Linked DNA regions of Homo sapiens: regions 2 and 3 are each linked to region 1. The links are contacts of gene promoters, found by promoter capture Hi-C in blood cells and fetal thymus (Javierre and others, 2016). All regions are on one chromosome and are shown on one strand. The core of a region is centred on a gene start or on the middle of the fragment in contact, and the rest is flanking DNA. Distances in the headings are between cores, read along the strand shown. Region 1 holds the start of P2RY14 (purinergic receptor P2Y14). Region 2 overlaps AADACL2-AS1 (AADACL2 antisense RNA 1). Region 3 overlaps AADACL2-AS1 (AADACL2 antisense RNA 1).

Region 1 (5,064 bases), core at 997-3,496:
TCAATCGAGTGTACGAGTATGTGCATTTGAGACGATCCAATCTTTCCAGATGAGCTTTCCTTTCAAGTGCCTAGCTGTCTGCCCCCTACCCACCCCTCACCATCCTTGTACTGCTACGTGCCAATAAAACCACAGAACAGAGGTCACAAGCTGACTGCTCACAAGCCCAATACAGTGCACACTCAGGTTTTGTTTTAGCCCACAGGGTATCAGGTCTACACTGGTTTGTAAGGTATTCGATTTAGACACCAACAAATGAAATCAGAGGAGACATATAAAGGCAGTAGCAGTGCACAGGCTCCAGGATCTGCCCAGCTCCAGCAACCTGATGTAACATCTCCATGCCTCAGTTTCCTTGTCTATTAAGAAAAAGGTGGGGAAGAAGTAGTAGACAGACCTACTTTACTCATGGAGCCATTGTGAGTAATCAAGCTAAAACACACAGAGTGTTTAGAACAGTACATGCAAATCAGCGTTTAATGTTCTGAAGACACTGGCCCATCCCAAGATGAGGCCCATGACTCTGGCAAGCTTCCAGACACAACTGTCCCCCTGGGTGGGCCCTTTAGCTTTCCATTTCTCCATACTCCCTCTACTCCCAAGTGTCTTACACAGAGTCCAACCCATTTGTACCACCTGCCACGAGGGGACCACCTGTAGGGCTATCCTTTTGGCCTTGGACTTTGCAACTCCTGGCATTAAGAGGCAAGCAAGCAGCTCCAGTCAAAGAAATTATCATGTTCTCCCCAGTCATACTCAATAACATCTATGTGAAACACCCCACGGGGAAGTCAAGAAGCAACAAATTATCATGTTCTCCCCAGTCATACTCAATAACATCTATGTGAAACACCCCACGGGGAAGTCAAGAAGCACAAAAGGGACCCGGAACAATTAATGGGTGTTTTTGAGACTGTCAGAGTAAACAGCATCTCCTGCAATAAATCAGGGAAGTCTTGAGAGTCGCACCTTAGAGATACGGTTCCTGCCAAATCATCAATTTAATCAGCAAAATGTTTACATCTGGAGGACTCTGCAATGTGCCCTGGTAATAACCAGGCTCTAGCGGCTCCTCCTCACATCCACTTGTCCTTAAGTTTATTTACCTACCAGATCTCACTGCAGCTGAAGCTAACAAGCCTCTCTATGCACATCAGTATTCTTAGCCCCTCAATCAAAGCATCAGTGAGGACTATTGGGGCCCGCTGGGGGTCTGAAGAAGAGTCCCTCTGGCAGGGAGAAATGGCGAACTTCTCTAAACAAGCTCTGTGTCTCACAGGTCTTTGCCAAGGATCAACAGTGACTAGCAAGTCTGTGAGACAGAAAGTAAGAAAATACTCTTCATGAGGGAAATAACTGTTTGGGTATGTGTCAGTCACTACTCCATCTCCAATGTCCAGAACACTGCCTCCTACGTAGCAAGTACATATAAAGCAACTAGAATAGTAACGGGCATGTCATAAGCCAGTTATAATTATTATAACTAAATGTATAGCTATGTTTTTAAGGCAAGCTGAACTTTACTAGTTGTTACCCATAATTTGGCAATGGAACAGCCTAAGTAAATACACTTAAAATGCAGGAACCTTATAAAGTAAGCTTTTCAGCCCCTTGTCTTCTTTCTTTCTGGTTCTGAGTTATACACTTTGAAGAGGACTTTGTAGCCATCTTCTGAAAACTTCCAAATCTAATGGCACTAATAGTCAATGGGAAAGACAGTGGAGCACTGCAGGACATCACCAATTATATTACAGAGCCTGAAAGGAACTAAAAATATGAAGACTTTCAAAATAGTAACACAGCACAAACACCAAAATGTTAACACACGAGGAGTTTATCTGAAGTCCTACTTGTGATCTATTTATCAGTAATGTTCAAATATGGGAAAATTAATGTGGGAAAAATGACAATGCAACACCTCTTATCTAGAATATGTCGACATTGGTGTCAAAATACTTCTTTATTCTGTTAATTCCGCATTTCCAGGTAGCTCCAACTACCCATCTCTGCACGTTATACTGTGAAGCTGCTGACAATTTTCTGAGGGTGCTTCAGAAAGAACCATATCTTACACATCAGTTCTCCACCTCATACCACATGTTGAATTTGACAATGGCAAAGGTTAGAAAAGAAAACAGGTTTTTGCCTGGCTGTGCATCAGATGATGTAGGGATGTGGGGAAAAGTAGGAGGAGAAATAAGAAAGCAGGACTGTTTTTGCATTACTGGAGGAAAGGAACTAGCTCAGAAGTCAGCCTAACACCCACAGAGATTAAAACGTCTCTTCCTTCCTCTTTGTTTCCACGTCCCAGTCTTCAATAAATTCTATCTGACAACAGCAGCAGAGGGACCCACTATCTTGTGGTTTCTGTCAAGTTCCTGATTTTCATCCGTAGTTGAAGATGAGCAAGAACTCTGTAACAGTGTTACCTTGGAGCCTACAATGAGAGGTATTTCAAAATGAGTGAAGCATGACTCTCACAGATGAAGGCCTAGACGCAGGTAAGAAAACAGCTTTTCCATGAAATGACTTGCATGTATGTGAATGGTGCATGGGAACAGAAAAGATTTCTGAGCTGGGCAGCAACAAAGCTGAGGAACACTGAACCATTGCCACTCACATTTTTCTCAGTAGGTTACTTTTTGTTTGACAACTATAATTGGTATATTAATATATTTCCCCATGCTAATATGGGGATCCAATACTGAAATATTATCATTTATGATTTAGGATTTCCAATCGTGGCTGTCAAAATATATCTGTGATGAAGAGATATCAAGGAAAATGTTTAAAAGGTATTCATCCAGGACAAACATTTCAAAAGCTCGTAAATGTGTATTAAAATTGCTTCTCAAAACTACAAAATCGATTAGCATAATACTTAGGTCAGTATGTCTTTGTTTGCAATTGCATATGTGTACAGATATATAGTTGCATTTACTTGTACATACACTTATATAGGTAAAAGTTTTTATCTTTGTCATTATTAGGATAAGTTAACCCCATTAACACCTACTAAAATAAAATGCCTTTAAATTGTAAATCACAGAAATATCTGTCCTAGGCATAGCAAATATTTGAGTTCATATGCTACTTATTTATAGTCTATGACTAATCAGCTAAATTACTTACAATTCTTTAAACATTATAAATTAAATTACATTCAGGAGAATTAGCACAGACCCACAATGTCAGCTTATTCAACCAAGCCCATGCAATCCATCTTGTCTACATATACTTTGTTAACCAAGGACAATCAATCCTACGGAGAAAATGAATCAAAGATCACACTAGTAAAAAAATAAATAGTTTGTATATTCATCTTTCTAAAACATACAAACTTGATAATCAGTTTTAGCACTAAAAAAAAACCTAGCCATTAAGTTAAAAAGAAAACAATGCACTCGGAAAATACCAAAATGGCATATTTTATGATTTGTAAACATGCAATGAATTTTATATTTCGGTAAAATTTATGAATACTATATATACAAACATGCATACAATTGTGTGCACACAATTAACACATTGGTATATATGAATGAACTCTATATTGTCATGTCTGGAAAAAAAAAAAACAAGGAGGCCAGGCATGGTGGCTCACACCTGTAATCCCAGCACTTTGTGAGGCCAAGGTGAGTGGCCTCAGGAGAGGCTGGTCAGGAGTTCAAGACCAGCCTGGCCAACGTGGTAAAACCCCTATCTCCACTAAAAATACAAAAATTAGCTGGGTGGTAGTGGTGCATGCCTGTAATCCCAGGTACTCAGGAGGCTGAGGCAGGAGAATCGCTTGAGTCTGGGAGCCAGAGGTTGTGGTGAGCTGAGATCGGGCCACTGCACTCCAGTCTGGGCGAGAGAGTGAGACCCTGTCTCAAAAACAAAAACAAACAAAAATAAAACCAAAAGAACAGTGGGGAGATTCCAAGGTACTCAAAGCATGAAGACACAGGGGAAGTGGGCCGGGTGCAGAGGAAGAAGTATAATTTCCTGAAGTATTACGGTGCCCACTTCACAGTTGAAGCAGGTACAGAGGGTGTGACTATCCTGAGCAAGGCCACCTATGATGCTTCTAAAGTGCTGAACAGAAGAAGAACACGGCTCCCTAGAAGAACGTTCACTCTATAAAGTGCTTCTGAGTGAATTTAGATGTTGAGGCTTCCCTAAGCCTAAGGCTCTATGAACTCAGAAGTCACAGGTTTATTCCATTTGGCCCCAGGATATCCTTAGAAGTTAGGTCGGTCACAAGTGAGCTGTTTCAACCTCCCAGTGTGAGCAGTCTCTAGAATACCAAAAACAGACCAGTCCAGGAGGTAGGCTGACACCAACACAAGCATATTCTGCCATCATCATGAGCATCCTCACCTGCAGAAGGCTGTCTAGTGGAGGATGATGGACAATAAGGAGTGTTTCCTTTAATTGAAAATTATATCAGTACAAGAGTGCCAAGTTTGTTTGGATAGAGCAGTGGATCTCAAAGTGCAGATACTATACCAGCTGAATCAACATCACCAGTGAGCTTGTCAGACATGCAAATTATTGACCCCAAACCTACAGAATCAGAAACAATGGGGGTGGAGCCCAGCAATCTCTTTTAACAAGCCCTCCAGGTAATTCTGTTGCACATTCAGTTTTGGGTGACCCCATGTCCTGGGACAGATCCAGTTTTCACCTGTTGTCTGGGCATAATTGAAAATAGTGCCTCCTTTCTATCTCAAAAGTGTCCTTGATTGTATAATAAATTAATTATGATCATCAATATGATCACCCTGCCAGTTCATACTGGATGCTAAGAAGGCATTTCATTGGCCAGATGCTGTCTACTACTTGGGATTTCAAATTAGCTTCAAGTCTGGTGCTACACCCATAGCCTCCCCACCATCACCCCGCAATACTAAAAGATGCATTGCCTCCTAAAAGTCTGAGCAGCACAGCTAGATAAATCAACTTCAGTAAAAATATCCTATCTTAATGAGAAAAAATACCTACAACCAAACTATGTAAAATCTATTTTAAATTCTCAGCTTCCTAAGTAGCATGAGAATCAGGTCTCCAAAACCCTCTTTA
Region 2 (5,064 bases), core at 919-3,418, 640 kb before region 1:
GTTTTTAATGGAGAGATTACCTTCCTTCCACATCCTCTCACTCAAAACTTGTCCATCTAATAAATGCCAGAGACAAAAAGGTGAGAGATTCAGTTACTGCTATTTAAGAACTCTGGATTTAGTATGAAAAAGTGCTTACTACTTCTAGTGTTAGCCCCACCATCTAAAAAACTTAGAAGTCGACCGGACGTGGTGGCTCATGCCTGTAATCCTAGCACTTCGGGAGGCCAAGGTGGGCAGATCCCCTGAGGTCAGGAGTTCAAGACCAGCCTGGCCAACATGGTGAAACCCCATCTCTAATAAAAATACAAAAATTAGTCAGGTGTGGTGGCACACACCTGTAGTCCCAGCTATCAGGAGGCTGAGGCAGGAGAATTGCTTGAACCTGAGAGGTGGCGGTTGCAGTGAGCCGAGATCATGCCACTGTCCTCCAGCCTGGGTGACAGAGCGAGACTCCGTCTCAAAAAAAAGCTTAGAAGTCATCACTCCTATCCTTAAATAACAAAAAGCTGAAGAAACTAAGAATCAACAACTGTTCTTAGATCTATCAAAGAACTAAGGTTTCAGAGCAACCTGCCACTGAAATCTGGACAGGCAGTGATAGGCAAAATAATGGCTGAAGAGAAATCCAAGTCGTAATCCTTGGATTCTATGAATATGCTATATGACAAAGAAAAGAGGAATTAAAGTAGTAGATGGAATTATGGTTGCTAATCAACTGATATTTAAACAGGGAGATTATCCTGCAATATTAGTTGGACCCAATATAATTATAATGGTCTTCAAATTTGGAAGGGGTAGCAGAAGAGAACTATTGTGATACCAGTTTGAAAAGTGCTTGGCCTTATATTAATGCATGGAAAACGCAAGAAAATGAATTCTCCCTTAGAGCATCCAGAAGGAACATAGCCCTGCTGACTAATTGATTTTAGCTTGATGTAAACGATTTCAGACTTCTGACTTCTAGAATTTTAAGATAATATATTTGTGTTGTTTTAAGACACCAAGTTTGTAGTAATTTGCTATAGTGGTCAGTAGAAAAAGAATACATACGTGAATCCAGACAGTCACAGTGGAGCAACTTATCTGGAGCAGAAGCCATTAGCACCATAAGCTGGCAGAAAAACTAAAATATTAATTTTAACAAATTCCTAGAGGTTGAGTATGGATTATTTGAGAGCAAAAAACTCCTAGAGGTCCCAATCTTAGAGAGGCTTCAACAATTTTATGGGTTTTTACCTCTGGGAACCCCTCCAGGTTCTCATGGTAAATATTCATGAAAGTTTCCCTTGTGGCACTAGCAGGGGAAAGAAAAACTAGTCAATGTAAAATATACCCACAGCCTCCTCCATAATGGACTACGCTGCAGATAAAAGGACTTTACCTGAGCCTTATCCAAGCTGGAAAAAAGCATTCCTCCCACTTTAGTTCCCTCTAGTGTTTCTGCCCCAACTAAGAGGGTACAAAAACTATACAACCGGAGAAATGCTTATGAAAGTCACAGCCCACAGACACAGGCTGACTAAAAGTGTGCGTTTTCATCCTAAGTATATAGAAGGCATCCCCTCACTGACACTTTACCACCACACCAGCAGGACTGCAATATAGTAACACTGGATTACATCGGAAAGAGCTGCAAGATGCAGACTCTCTGTGAGGAGGAGTACTTAGGGAATCCTAAAGTCAAGAAAGAAGACAAAAGCAAGGAGACTAGAAGAACATGAAGCCTCTGGCACCCACAGCTACAGCTGAGATTAAACACAGCCTAGATTCCAGCCAGATTAATGTAAATCCTGACAGTAAAGGACAGTTTATCTCAGTTATAATTACCCAATGCAACATGTTTGGCTTTCAGCAAAATAATTACCCAATGCAACATGTTTGGCTTTCAGCAAAAACTACAAGATGTACAAAAAGGCAAAACATGCGTGTACGCATGTGCGCACATATACACACTCACACATACACAGTCTGAAGAGACAAAGCAATCATAAGACCCAGACTCAAATGTAACACAGATGTTCGAATTTCAGACAGAAAATTTAAAATACCTATGATAAATATGTTAAGGGTTCTATATTTGTTAGCTAGGGCTGCCATAACATAGTACCATAGGCTGGGTAGTTTAAACAAGGGAATTTTATTTCGCTCTGGAGGTTAGAAGTCCAGGCTCAAGGTGCCTTCAGGTTTTTCTTCTTCTTAGGCTTGTCGCCATGACTCGCAGATGGCCACCTTCTTGCTGTGTCCTCACGTGATTTTTTCCTCTGTCTGTGTGCATCCTTAGTATCTCTGTGTGTTTGAATTTCCTCTTCTTATAAGGACACCAATCAGAAGGAAAGAGATAAAACTGTCTATATTCACAAATGATATAATTTTCTATTTTAAAATACCAATGAAATGACAATAAATTCCTGTAATTGATAAGTGTATATAAAAGGGTCACAGGATAGAAGGTTGAAAGTCAATTGATTTCTTATATACCAGCAATAAACAACTAAACATTAAAATTAGAAAAAGAGTCCATACCATTTACAGTAGCTCAACTACACAGATATAAATCTAATATAATATGTATAGAAAATGTGTGTAGGAAATGACAAAATATCAACAAATAAAATAAAGAAGACAAAAACATGGAGAAAGATGTGTTATATGTATATACAAAACACATATATATTTTCTTACTCTACAATCAGCAATCACATTCCTAGGTATTTACCCAACTTGTTTGAACAAACTTATGTGCGCTCAAAAATGTGCCCATAGTTGTCTATGAAAGAGAAACTCGTTACTCTATGTTTTTTTCTACACATTAGAAAAATTTGAACCATCTACAGTAGTCCCCACTTATTCCTTGTTTCACTTTTTGTTGTTTCAGTTACTCATGGTCAACTGTGGTCCAAAAATATGAGCTATTTTATTATATTTTACATGTAACTCTATGTGAACAATTGGAGGAAGTACTGGTTTAGGCCAGTGGTTCTTAAAAAGTGGTCCCAGAACCAGTAGCATCGTCATCTGGGAACCTGCTAGAACATCAAGTCATTGGAACTCACCCAGAGCTACTGAATCAGAAACTCTGGGTATAGGCCCAGAAACGTGTGTTGACAAGACTTCCAGGGGACTCTGATCAGCGAACATGTGAACAGTAGGAGGTTTCAGCAAAAGGAAAGCTCAGGATAGAAACCTTGCACCAACATGGGCTGTCTTTTGGTGTGAACATATATAGACATGTTTTTGTGCTTCCCTGGGGGTGCTGAAGAAGGCTGATGAGAGCCAAGAACCAGCAGGCCTGGAATGGCCCACAATGGTGAGGAGTAAATGTGCCAAGAGCAGAAACTGCAAGTAATCTCTTAAACTATGGGCTGGTGGAGGAGAGCATGACTGAGACTCAAGGTGTATTAGTTTGTTCTCACACTGCTAATAAAGACATACCTTAGACTGGGTAATTTATAAAGGAAAGAGCTTCAATGGACTGACAGTTCAGCATAGCTGGGGAGCCTCACAATCATGGTGGAAGGCAAAGGAGAAGCAAAGGCATGCCTTACATAGTGGCAGGTAAAAGAGCTTATGCAGGGGATCTCCCATTTATAAAACCATCAGATTTCGTGAGACTTATTCATTACCACAAGAACAGTATGGGTGAAACTGCCCTCATGATTCAATTATCTCCATCTGGCCCCACCTTTGACACGTGGAGTTTATTACAAGTCAAGGTGAGATTTGGGTGGAGACACAGCCAAACCATATCACAAGGGGTTGGCAGCATCCGAAAGCGACAAGGAGGGGCCAAGGCAGCAACACGGTGGGCCACCCACCCAGTCTAGCAAAGAGCCAGCAGGCAGGGCTGGCCCAGCAAGCTTTCTGCTCTACTCAGGTGTTCTCCTGTGAGGTAGAAAGGGAAGCAGAGAAACAGCACTTACAAAGATGTTGAAGCTTACATTCTCTGAATATTTATATAATTTTCAGCTGCTTAATTTAGAAGAAGAAGTAACTGTCATACTATCTTCCTACGCAAACCCTGACCAGCTGAGAGTCCATGTATAAGCTACAGTTACATTTTTAAAAAAAGAAGAGAAACAATTTTACAAATCTGTATTAGTGCATATATTTCAACACAACAACATAAATCTACCTGATCCATTTCATTATTTGCTTATTTAGAAACTATTTCAGAATAAAAGATTATTATTTCAGATTCCCTTGTCAGATAGCCTGGAAAATGTGAAGACTGCTTAGGGTTTTGAAACATTCACTTTGAAGTCGTCAGAAATGTTGCAGTGACAATTTTAAAACCACTTGAGGGCAGTAAAAGCACATTTCTTAACTGTACATTGCAGATGATTTAACCATAACCTCCAAAATTAAAGACTTGGCCAGAATACCTTATCTGCATTTCTAACTTTGTCTAGAGTTATGCCCCCACCCCCATCTGCCAGGTTTATATTCCTAGTTTCTCAAATTTAAGTAGAACAAGAACAAAAATTTAAAGCACACATTCTGTTTTTGGTTTCTTTCATAAGCAATATTTTTGCTGTGGCTTATAATTGATGTATTTCAGAGACATGGCTCAATTAAGTCACAAGTTCAACTTCTTTACCTCAAATGTATGTATATTTCAACATCAATTCATATATGTGAGCATGAATGTTTGTGTGTGGATATGTGTGTGTTTACCCGGAGAGATTTGAGTATATAAATAAAAATAGTCGTTATCATTATAGTGAATAAGAAGAACTCTTTTGGGCACATTTATAAAGGTACTTTACTCTTTCCCATCACAGCCCTGCAAATCCACTGTCTTGGCATCTTCTTCATCACCACCTTGAAAAAAATCTTGGGCAAGTCCCATAAATTCTCAGAAATTAAAAGAAGAAAGGTTTCCTAGTTACCTTTCCCCCCTAAATTGTTTCATTTCAGTAATTAAATCACCTATCTCTGTGTAATACTTAAAATTGCTAACTTCACCTAAAGTTAAACTTCTTCCCTTTATTTTGTCTGCTTCCCACCAGAAGTCTGCAGTGGGGAGAAGTGGTGAGGTGGTCACACACATTCTGGTCCATG
Region 3 (5,064 bases), core at 1,655-4,154, 580 kb before region 1:
CATGTGGGAACAGTTAAAGACATTCATATTATGAAGGCAGAGGAAACAATAGAAATGTTTTAAGTAAAAATGGGATGGAATGATATTTGCATTCTGAAAGAATCTGTCTTTTTATACACACAAATACACTCACACACACCTTTTTTCCACTTTCTCATTTTGATTTAGATTTTCTCATATCACTGCACATTATAAGCATGTGTCAAAATATCACATGTATCCCCCAAATATGGGCAATCATGTATTAATAAAAAATTAGTAAGATTCTCATTTCTAGCTCAAATTATCCTCAAAATAAATTTTAAGAAACTTAAAGCAACCCCTTTTATCATATATTCTCCTATTTAAAAACTTTCAGCAGCTACCTACTATATGAGGATTAAGTATAAATCCTTTAACTTTCAAGAAGCCCAACCAATCTATCACACTCCATCTTTCTAACCAACTATGTTTCTTCTTTTGCATACTTAGTCTCAACTACATGTTGGATGGTACACTCTTTTTTTCTTTAATCCATGATAAAATTCCCCCCACAAATGGGGAATTCTTTCTCCCTCACTTCCAGTCAAAATTCTGTCTATTCTTCAAGTTTCAAATCCTACATTGGAATATTAGCTGGCAATAATATCTTCTGCTGCTAAATGCCAATACTTATGTTAGTACCACTGATGTAGACATCTAAATACAATTATACAATCAAAAATTTTGAGTTTAAGACAATTGATAACTATATGTGAATAGACATTTTTAATGCCAAGGATTATATCACATATATTATATTGTACCCTACCCCTGGTCATGGCCAGAAGAGTACTTTGCACAGATACTATTTCAAAATATGTTTGAACAGGACTGTCTGTATATATTATATATACAGTATGTGTAGATAAGAAAACACTAGTATGTATTTCCCTAATTCTAAATTTGAAAAAAATTTTTTTTTTGAGACAGAGTTTCACTCTTGTTGCCCAGGCTGGAGTACAATGGCACGATTTCAACTCACTGCAACCTCTGCAAGCGAGTCTTCTGCCTCAGCCTCCCAAGTAGCTGGGCTTACAGGTACCCGCCACCATGCCAGGCTAACTTTTGTATTTTTAGTAGAGACGGGGTTTCGCCACGTTGGTCAGGCTGGTCTCGAACTCGACCTCAGGTGATCCACCTGCCTCGGTTAATTTTTCAATTTTAGGTGCTATTGTTTGACTTTCTTTTCAAGATAAGTATATAACCTCTTATAGATATTTAAACACAACATCTTCTTTCATCATCCCTACAAAATTAGATTGCAATTTTTGTTGGATCTCCATTCAGTATCTACCAATGTATTGTAACTAACTACCAATGTGTGTGTGTGTATATACATATATACACACACATATATAGATATATATACACGTACCTCAGAAGGTAAATGTTTGATTGAAAATGATTCTACTTCAGAATTTTAAAAAGCAACTTCCATTGTATTTAAGCTCTCAAACCTTTGCTAAGTTCAATGCCATGTTGGGTGCAGTGGTCCATGCCTATAGTCTCAGCTACTTGGGAGGCAGTAGTATCACTTGAGCCTAGGAGTTTGAGTCAGAGGGAGACTCTGTGTCAAAAAACAAAACAAAAAAGACAACAGCCTGGGCAACATAGTAAGACCCTCATCTCTAATAATAATTAAAAAAATTCAGTGCCATTCGGTCTTTTACAAGCAATAATTTTTGCACCTTGCATCTAGTTTCTCTTCCCCTACTGGTTTTAAGTTTGGTGTTAATATACCTTAGGGTAAGTATTTTTTATTGAATGTGCTGGGCACTTAGTAGGGCCTTTATGTGTGGAAATACACCTACTTTCATTGGTGAATTGATTATCTTTTCTTCCTTTTAGGGGCTGAATTCACCACCACCACCAAATTCACATGCTGAATTCTTAATCCCCAGTACATCAGAATGTGATTGCATTTGGAGAGCGAATCTTTAAAGAAAAAACTAAGTTAAAATGAGGTCACTAGGGTATGCCCTAATCCAATGTGACTGTAGTATTTATAAGAAGAGGTGATCAGGACACGGACACACACAGAAACAATGGTTAGGTGGAGGGGGCGGGGTGTAAAGACAGAGGGATTTGATGAAAACATTCATAAGGTATTAAATTTACAGAAGACTGGATATGAATTTTCAGGATAAATTAAAATAAATAAGTGGTCACCGGTCTTGGTGACAACAGGCCCATGAAAGACAGATAACAGAAAATTAACTGAGAATGTATGTGCTGAATCACCACAGCTCCAGGCTACTTGCACTGCTTGCTTTTAAATACCATGGCATCAGATATGCCCATTTCGGCAAAATATTGGAACCAAGCCAACAGTTAACAGCATTGATTGATTTTTCCTAAGTAGCTTACCCACTGTCTGAATACCACTGAGTTTCAAAAAACCTTGCATATCAAACTCCTAAGACAATCTGGTTTTTCTATGGCCATGTTTTCTAGCCGTTAATAGGCATGTGCTGTTTCAGCTTTCTCAAGTCTTACTATATTCCAAAACCATGTAGATCTCTTTTTCTCCATTTCTGTTATCCTTCTCTTGGGGATTTATATGATGCAATTTCTTCATCCTCATCTAGTGGTATTTCTTGAAGTTGCAGAGAAATTTATATTTGCCCAATGCTCTGTGTAAAGTAAAATAATCACAGATCTATGGGGAAGGTGCATCACCTCTTCCAATCAGATGCTGAATGAGAAGTAGCTTATTAAATTTACTTGTAAGCCAAAGTCGACATTTATATACTTCATTTCTACCATGTTTTAAACTAAAATCAGTATTAATCAAATTTTGCCAGGCACAGTGGCTCTTGCCTGTAATCTCAGCACTTTGGAAGGCAGAGGTGGGCGGATTGCTTGAGGCCAGGAGTTGGAGACCAGCCCCAGCAACATGGCGAAACCCTGGCTCTACAAAAGATACAAAATTTAGCCACTGGTAGACATCTCTAGAGGTTTATTTGGGTTGACACAGGAAAATAACTGATACGTGTAAAGTAAAATCATTTTGTATTCATAAAAATCACTTATAAACATTATTTATATTATGGCAAGGAAAGTTGCTCTTAATATAATCTTAATAGTCAGAGGTGTAAATGCTATAGAATTTCTGTGAAACTTAGAAACAGATTCAAATATATATATACATTATTGATATCACCTTGTAATGCATGACATGTTTCATAACATTAGTGACATGTCCTGTGCGTTATGCCTCACTAGCAATGCATAGGTCAAGGTGCTGTGCAAAACCACCGTGAAGACCGTCCATCCACACGGTATTTCCATCAAACCTGCACATGTGTCTGCGATGTGCTGGCTCACGTCATGTGTCTCATTTTTACTGAGTAAAATTTCTTTTTTGGCACATTATGGAGAAAAATAAGTAGGTTCATTTTGTTAAAAAAAAAAGAAACTTTATCTATGTTTCTATATTTTATGGCCAATCTGTGCATTCTCATTTCATAATAAAATAAAATTAGAACACTACACTATATGAAATAACAGAAAAGAGCATTGGCTTCAGAATCTTCAAATCTGGGATTAGGTTCTGACTGCACTCAAATGTGTTTTTCCACCTCTACCAGCCTCAGATGTTCATCTGTAATCAGGTCTTCATCTGTAAAATAAATTTGCTTGGTGGGGGTAGGGGAGTATCAAATCAGATAGTTTACGACATTTGAAATGCTTTAGACTATAAACTACTACAACATTGCTCCTATTATTGAAATTTAACAGTATTTTATCAAACAACACTTTGATTTGTGATGAAAACCTGGGCAAATTAAAAGATTTCTAACTACTAACTACTAGAAACACAAATTTATTGTGGAATCATTTGAGCAAAGGCTGGATCTGTGGCCATGGCACTGGGATTTACTGGAAAGAGGCACCAGAAAACTTTTTGGGAGGTGATGATAGTAATTTTCTGAAACTTGATAGAGATAGGGTTGGGGTTGCCTAAGTGTGATGCTTAATACTGAATGTCAATCTGACTGGATTCAAGGATACAAAGTATTGATCCTGGGTGTGTCTGTGAGGGTGTTGCCAAAGGAGATTAACATTTGAATCAGTGGGCTGGGAAATGCAGACACGGCCTTAATCTGGGTGGGCACAATCTAGTCAGCTGCCAGCATGGCTAGAATATAAGCAGGCAGAAAAATGTGAAAAGAGAGACTGGCCTAGCCTCCCAGCCTACATCTTTCTCCTGAGCTGGATGTTTCCTGCCTTTGAACATTGGAGTCCAAGTTCTTCAGTTTTGGAACTCAAACTGGCCCTCCTTGCTCCTCAGCCTGCAGATGACCTATTGTGGGACCTTGTGATTGTGTGAGTTAATACTTTATAAATTCCCCTTTATATATATATATATATATATATATATATATATATATATATATATATATATGTGTGTGTGTGTGTGTGTGTGTGTATGATATATACATTTATATATGATATATATTTAATAGATATATTTATATATATCATAGATATATTTATATATATCATAGATATATTTATATATGATATATACTTATATATATGATATTTTTATCTTTCATTGTATATAAATTTACCTCAAAAAGAGCAGGAGCAAAAATAAATACCGTACTCTGTTTACTAAAATGCATGCTAAAATGTTTAGGGATTAAATGTACTGATGTCTGCAATGTATAAAAAATAAGATGGGGCTCATGCCTATAATCCCAGCACTTTGGGAGGCTGAGGCGGGTGGATCACCTGAGGTCAGGAGTTCTAGACCAGCCTGGCCAACATGGTGAAACCCCGTCTCTACTAAAAATACAAAAGTTAGCCAGGTGTGGTGCTGGGTGCCTATAATCCCAGCTACTTGGGAGGCTAAGGCAGGAAAATCGCTTGAACCCAGGAGGCAGAGGTTGCAGTGAGCCAAGATCCCACCGCTGCACTCCAGACTGGGTGACAGAGCAAGACTCCGTCTCAAAAAAAAAAAAAGATGGACTGATTGATAGAATAGATAGACAAATAGAGAGTTGATGAAGCAGGTGCAATAAAATGTTTATTGCT

Evidence for each region. Contacts are between HindIII fragments. The CHiCAGO score rates a contact against its expected background, and 5 or more counts as called.
Region 2: a fragment that was not itself captured here is called in contact with the fragment with the promoter of P2RY14 in region 1 in 1 of 17 cell types (monocytes); the score reaches 5.7 in monocytes.
Region 3: a contact is called between a fragment that was not itself captured here and the fragment with the promoter of P2RY14 in region 1, in 1 of 17 cell types (monocytes). The highest score is 5.2, in monocytes.

Annotation. Positions count from the first base shown.
Region 1 is chr3:151,275,724-151,280,787 of GRCh38, reverse strand. P2RY14 (purinergic receptor P2Y14) reads left to right here and starts at 2,246. Exons shown (of 3, transcript NM_014879.4): 1 at 2,246-2,501. All of the region lies in intron 16 of MED12L (mediator complex subunit 12L), which reads right to left. The HindIII fragment of the contact is 3,614 bases long and covers 1,602-5,064 here.
Region 2 is chr3:151,917,690-151,922,753 of GRCh38, reverse strand. All of the region lies in intron 1 of AADACL2-AS1 (AADACL2 antisense RNA 1), which reads left to right. Among named protein-coding and RNA genes, the nearest start is that of AADACL2-AS1, 8.0 kb to the left of the region's middle. The HindIII fragment of the contact is 3,389 bases long and covers 474-3,862 here.
Region 3 is chr3:151,853,561-151,858,624 of GRCh38, reverse strand. All of the region lies in intron 1 of AADACL2-AS1 (AADACL2 antisense RNA 1), which reads left to right. Among named protein-coding and RNA genes, the nearest start is that of SUCNR1, 18 kb to the left of the region's middle. The HindIII fragment of the contact is 7,050 bases long and covers 1-5,064 here.